2 separate regions of the Homo sapiens genome follow, and region 2 is linked to region 1. The links are contacts of gene promoters, found by promoter capture Hi-C in blood cells and fetal thymus (Javierre and others, 2016). All regions are on one chromosome and are shown on one strand. Each heading gives the region's core, a stretch centred on a gene start or on the middle of the fragment in contact. The rest is flanking DNA. Distances are from core to core; before and after follow the strand shown. Region 1 holds the start of FTHL17 (ferritin heavy chain like 17). Region 2 overlaps DMD (dystrophin).

Region 1 (3,137 bases), core at 480-2,979:
TTTGACAAGTGTGCCAAGACCATCTAGTGGAGAAAGAATGGTCTTCTCAACAAATGGTGCTAGGACAACTGGATATCCACACACAAAGGAATGAAATTGGACAATGACCTCATATCATATACAAAAATTAACTCAAAATGAGTTAGAAACTTAAATGTAAAAGCTAAAACTGTAAAATTATTCAAAGAAAACCTGGACATAAATGTTTATGACCTTGAATTAGGCAATGGTTTCTTAGATAGGACACTAAAAGCACAAGTGACAAGAGAAAAACAGAAAAATTGAACATAATTAAGAACTTTGTGCTTCAAAGGACACCATTAAGAAAGTGAAAAAAAAAACAGAATGAGAGAAAATATTTGCAAATCATATATCTGAAAAAGGACTGGCACACATAATATATATAGAACTCTTAAAACTCAGCAATAAAAGTACAAATAACCCAATTTTAAAATGGACAAAAGACTTGAATAGAGTTTTCTCCAAAGAAGATACAAATGACTATGAAAAGATGCTCAACATCAATAGCCATTATGGAAATGCAAATCAAAACCACAGTGAGATACCACTTTACATCCACTAGAAAAACAACAAAGACAATGACAGTGTTGGAACCTTCATACATTGTTAGTGGGCATGTAAAATGATGAGGGGACTTTGGAAAACAGTCTAGCAGTTCCTCAAAATGTTAAACAGAGTCTTAACATATGACCCAGCAATTCTAGTCCCAGGTATATACCCAAGGGAGTTGAAAACATATGTCTATTATAAAAATCCTCATAGCTGCATTAGTCATAATAGTCACAAAATGGAAACAACTCAAATGCCCATCGACTGATGAATGAGTAAATAAAATGTGGTATATCCATACAATGAAATATAATTCAGCCATAAAAAAGACAAAAGTTAAAGACATTATGCTAAATGAAAGAGGCCATATAAAGGCCGCATATAGTATGATTTATTTGAAATGTCCAGAGTAAGCAAATCTCTAGAAACAGAGATTTCATTTGTGGTTGTCGGGCCAGTGAGGAAGGCGAGATGGGCAGTAACTACTCATGGGTAGGGGATTTCATTTTGGAATAAGGAAAACGTTCTGAAATTAGATTTTTGGTGATGGGGTGATAGTTACACAACTTCATGAATATACTAAAAACCATGGAAATGTTTCAGAGGGTGAATTTTATGGCAGAGGAATTGTATCTCAATAGTGCAGTTTGTTGTTGTTGTTTGACACAAGTCTTGCTCTGTTGCCCAGGCTGGCGTGTAACGGCACAATCCCAGCTCACTGCAACCTCCGCCTCTTGGGTTCAAGCAATTCTCCTGCCTCAGCCTCCCGAGTAGCTGGGACTACAGGTGCGCGCGCCAGCATGCCTGGCTAATTTTTTTTGTATTTTTAGTAGAGACGGGGTTTCACCATGTTGGTCAGGTTGGTCTCCATGTCCTGACCTCGTGATCCGCCCGCCCCGGCCTCCCAAAGTGCTGGGATTACACGCGTGAGCTACCGTGCCCGGCCTAGAGCAGTTATTTTTAAAAGATGGTCTTGAAACATTCAGCGCCAAGTGGCCGGGATTTCCGACGGAAGTCAGCGCTTGTGCCCCCACCCCCTTGCCCCGCAACTCTGTCCCCCGCCGCCCCTCCCCCCACCGACAGAGCGCGCTCCTCCCTAACGGTCGCCACTGCCCACTTCCACTGCCCACTTCCGGTTTCATCGCACACCCGCCTTTCACTATCCGCCATTCTTGTCACCTCAGCTGCTGCCCTCGCTACCGCACCGACTTCGCCCGTGTGCTCGCCTGCACTTGCGCTGCCCGCCATGGCCACCGCCCAGCCGTCGCAGGTGCGCCAGAAGTACGACACCAACTGCGACGCCGCCATCAACAGCCACATCACGCTGGAGCTCTACACCTCCTACCTGTACCTGTCTATGGCCTTCTACTTCAACCGGGACGACGTGGCCCTGGAGAACTTCTTCCGCTACTTCCTGCGCCTGTCGGACGACAAAATGGAGCATGCCCAGAAGCTGATGAGGCTGCAGAACCTGCGCGGTGGCCACATCTGCCTTCACGATATCAGGAAGCCAGAGTGCCAAGGCTGGGAGAGCGGGCTCGTGGCCATGGAGTCCGCCTTCCACCTGGAGAAGAACGTCAACCAGAGCCTGCTGGATCTGTACCAGCTGGCCGTGGAGAAGGGCGACCCCCAGCTGTGCCACTTCCTGGAGAGCCACTACCTGCACGAGCAAGTCAAGACCATCAAAGAGCTGGGTGGCTACGTGAGCAACCTGCGCAAGATTTGTTCCCCGGAAGCCGGCCTGGCTGAGTACCTGTTCGACAAGCTCACCCTGGGCGGCCGCGTCAAAGAGACTTGAGCCCAGATGGGCCCCACAGCCACGGGGTCCCTTCCCTGGGTCAGGCCACTAGGCGGGGCGTGCATGTTGCCCTTTCAGAACGTTCTCTTCAGTTTTATCTTTCAGTTTTACCATTGTTAGCAAAAAAGTTATCTGGTTCTCAAAGCAATAAAGGTGTCCATTTGATACACCTGCAACTCTCACCTTTTAGGAATCAGGGCAAATCCCCATGCAGGTTTAAAGTAGGTATCCAGCAGTCTCTCCACCCACCCCTGCCCCATCTGCATGCAGCTCAGGATTTGCAGGGGTGGAGTGGAATGGTATTTTATGGGCCCCTGGAAAACACATTAGTCTTCCCTTTGTAAACTACCAGGGTATGTGGGGTGGGATGGGGTGGGGTGGTCACTCTTGGGCCCTGGTGGCTGTGGGTGCATGGGCACGGTAAAGTGTAAAACGTGGTCTGGAATTCATCATAGTGGTTGCCTCTGGGGAAGAAGTGAAGGAAATGGGATTGGGCAAGGATTAAAATAAACAAAGGGTCTTCAACTTTACATGAAAACTTGTAGTTTATTAAAATATGCCAATGTTAATGTTTGTGGATTCTGAGTAGCAAGTGGGGGCTCTGGGTGACAGCACAGCAGGGTACTTCTTTGGCAAGCTCACTTTGGGTGACAGTTGTAGTGGGAGCCTTAAGCTGGCTTCCCCATAGCCAAGGGGCTGACAAACTAAAATGGCACTTTGCAAGTCCAAGTCCTTTTATTTACATTGTTGTACTTTGTTTTTACAAGAA
Region 2 (3,091 bases), core at 120-2,619, 230 kb before region 1:
TATGTGTGTGTGTGTGTGTGTTTGAATTCTAATATTCTGGGAAACTTTAAAAGTGGCATATCTAGCACTTATGTTTTTCTCAGTACTAAAATGCATAAAAGAGCACCATATTGACCTACCAGCTGCTTCTAAATCACACCAGTAGTAGGTAATTATGAAATTCAAATGAAGTTTAATTTTCATTTATTATACAAAAATGTCATAGCTCAAACCCAGAAGTGTTACCCCCAAGCTTGGATATAGACAGGTATGTGTGTACATTTTACTTTTCAAGATGAATCATAGCAGTCTTCTCCATTACATGTAAGGACTAGAAGTTGTACATTCCACTCAGGTACCTAAAGGCAAGCCTGTGCTAGCCCACACTAACAAAGCAAAATGAAGCAAAGGATCTATCTGGCTTTCAATCAGGGATGCATCTATGCTATCATCAGCTCTGTCACATAATAAATGAGTCTATAGATAACTTGAACTACTCAGCCAATGGGCTGTAACCCAGTGATTCTGTGGTATTGAAAGGCAGCAACCCCCAGAAGCCACATGTCTCAGTGTGCACTCCAGGACTGTAGGCCCATAGAACTTGTATGTATGCACACATGCATATGCATTCCCCACTTTTCTAATGGCGATCCAATCTAGGCCTAATCCACAGCTAGTCCAGAAAAGAACTTTTTTAGGTTTTCTGTCTGCCATCACTTTGTTGAGAGGCAGTACAAGCCAAGCAGGTGTCTGTATTTATAATATGCACAATGTTAGGATAACTCAAACTCATAAGGGAAAGATTAATGGCTGACTACTATGAAAACCGCTTCTAGCCTTGTGATACCAGCACCTACTATCTTCCTTTTTCTCTTATATGATGAAAAGATTTCAATGTTGGCTTTTCATTCTGATAGAATGTGCAAGCCAAAATCTAAATAAAGTCCAGTGGCAATGATCCCCTTAAACATTATATCTTTCTTCTCGATATGCTGATGTTTTCCCTTATAAAAATCTATGTAAGTTTCAAGATTTATATGACAGACAAACCACACAAACAGGAGGTCCCTCACATTCACTACTAGTCACTTGCTCTATCACTCTGGGAATAGCGGTCTTCAGATTGCATCTCTACTCTACCTCTTGCTCTTTTCAACCCCTCTCCTCTTTTTTAGACCATACAGGGCATCAGACAAGGTTTAGTTTACCACTAAACTTTGGGATTTGGAAGATGGTGTATAAACTGATACAGGTAGTCCACTCACAGATGTAGTATATAATTACAGACTTGAGTTTTCAGGGGCTCTTCTCCAGTTTCCTGTCAATCAATTTCCCTGGCTGAGACATTAGCATTTGTCAGTGACCATGCTTACTATATACATACACAATTGTGTATACACAATTGTAAAATTAAATACGGGCTTTAGAAGAGATTATTTTTTCTTAAGAGTAGGTTACTCTATAAATGCCAAAGCATGTGTTATGACATAGAAATTCAAATGACTAAGAATAGCTAATTGTTTAGAAACATCTTACTTGATGTCTATTGTTCCAAAATTTGATCCAATTTAGAGTGGTACCAATCCATGGTGTAGAATATAAAAGCTAAAGGATAACAAAAATCCTAGGAATCTCATGCCAGTAAGAAAGTTCTACCAGTCAGATGAGATGTTGAGAGCATTTATGACTTGGCATCAGGAATATTATAAGTAAAATTCATGTGAGCAGTAATTGCAGCTATGAACCATGTTATTTGTTCCCACTTGTCCAACTGTAATTCTTTCACTTAGCTCAGAGTAGTTCTTTGTAACATTAGGGCCCACTCATCTGCCTTTAGGTAGGGTTTTAAAAGATGCCTAGAAAATAGTTCTGTGCTAGAAATCAGAGACTCTTGACCTACTGTAAAGGGAGCAGTAAGCACGTTTCCTCAGGAGAATCTTTCTACATACTGCAGATTCCCATAAAAATCTTTGTGACAAAATTGCCTTTACTGAAACCATCATCCATTGGATTAAAAAATAGCTTACCATTAGCTTTTTGAAAATAGAAAACGTTGAGCCTTTTCAATGATACTTTCAATAGTTTTTCACAACTATGAGTCCTCAAGCTATCAGTCTTATTTTTAGATACCATACTTATAAGATAGTTATAGAATTTATAGAGTATGGTTTAAAAGACTATTCAATTATAGAGCAATCATTCAGTTTATTCCCATGGCAGAAGTAAATGGAAACCACTCCAGATCAACAAGAATCTACTCTCTTCTGATTCAGAAAAGAGATTTCCTATCTTTTCATGAATAATCCATGTTCAATGTTTAACACCTCAGGAAGATTTTCTTAATAGCTTCTTCTGGTCATAAATCCTTGGTCTGTCATCAGGGACATATTGAAGAGTTAGTTACCAAAGTTCTTAATGTCTCCCATTGTAAAAAAAAAAAAAAAAAAAAGTCACTTTTTGGATTGTTTCTTTCATAGAGTCCATGCTTCTGTACGCTTAATACTTTAGCTTTTGACTTCAAGCTTTAGGTAATGCAAATGAAGCTATTACATCACCAAAGTTAAATTTTTCTTGTAAGTATATTCTCAACATTCACAATTGAGAGCTGCCTCTTCTTTGGCTGGTATAAGGTTTTAATTTATTGTAGCACTTTCACCCTAGAATGGCAAAAAATGTTGAAATCAATTCCATATATCACCAATACAAAGTACTAAGTCAAGGCCGGGTGTGGTGGCTACGCCTGTAATGCAAGCACTTTGGGAGGCCAAGGCGGGCAGATCACTTGATGTCAGGAGTTCGAGACCAGCCTGACCAACATGGTGAAACCCCATCTCTACTAAAAATACAAACATTAGCCAGGCGTTCATAGCGAGCGCTTGTAATCCCAGCTACTTGGGAGGCTGAGGCAGGAGAATCGCTTGGACTTGGGAGGTGGAGGTTGCAGTGAGCCAAGATCATGCCATTGCACTCTAGCCTGGGTGACAGAGCGAGTCTCAACAAACAAACAAACAAAAATATTGAATTGTACACCTTAAATGGGCGAATCGTATGGTATGTATACTAAATGTCAATAAAGCTGTTATATGAAAAAAAAATGCTAACACACACATTC

What was found. The method cuts DNA at HindIII sites, captures the fragments that hold promoters and counts their contacts. A CHiCAGO score of 5 or more calls a contact.
Region 2: a contact is called between a fragment that was not itself captured here and the fragment with the promoter of FTHL17 in region 1, in 1 of 17 cell types (total B cells). The highest score is 6.0, in total B cells.

The regions. Positions count from the first base shown.
Region 1 is chrX:31,070,633-31,073,769 of GRCh38, reverse strand. FTHL17 (ferritin heavy chain like 17) reads left to right here and starts at 1,729. Exons shown (of 1, transcript NM_031894.3): 1 at 1,729-2,537. The coding sequence starts at 1,817. The coding sequence ends at 2,368. The HindIII fragment of the contact is 17,190 bases long and covers 1-3,137 here.
Region 2 is chrX:31,295,321-31,298,411 of GRCh38, reverse strand. All of the region lies in intron 62 of DMD (dystrophin), which reads left to right. Among named protein-coding and RNA genes, the nearest start is that of FTHL17, 220 kb to the right of the region's middle. The HindIII fragment of the contact is 2,269 bases long and covers 235-2,503 here.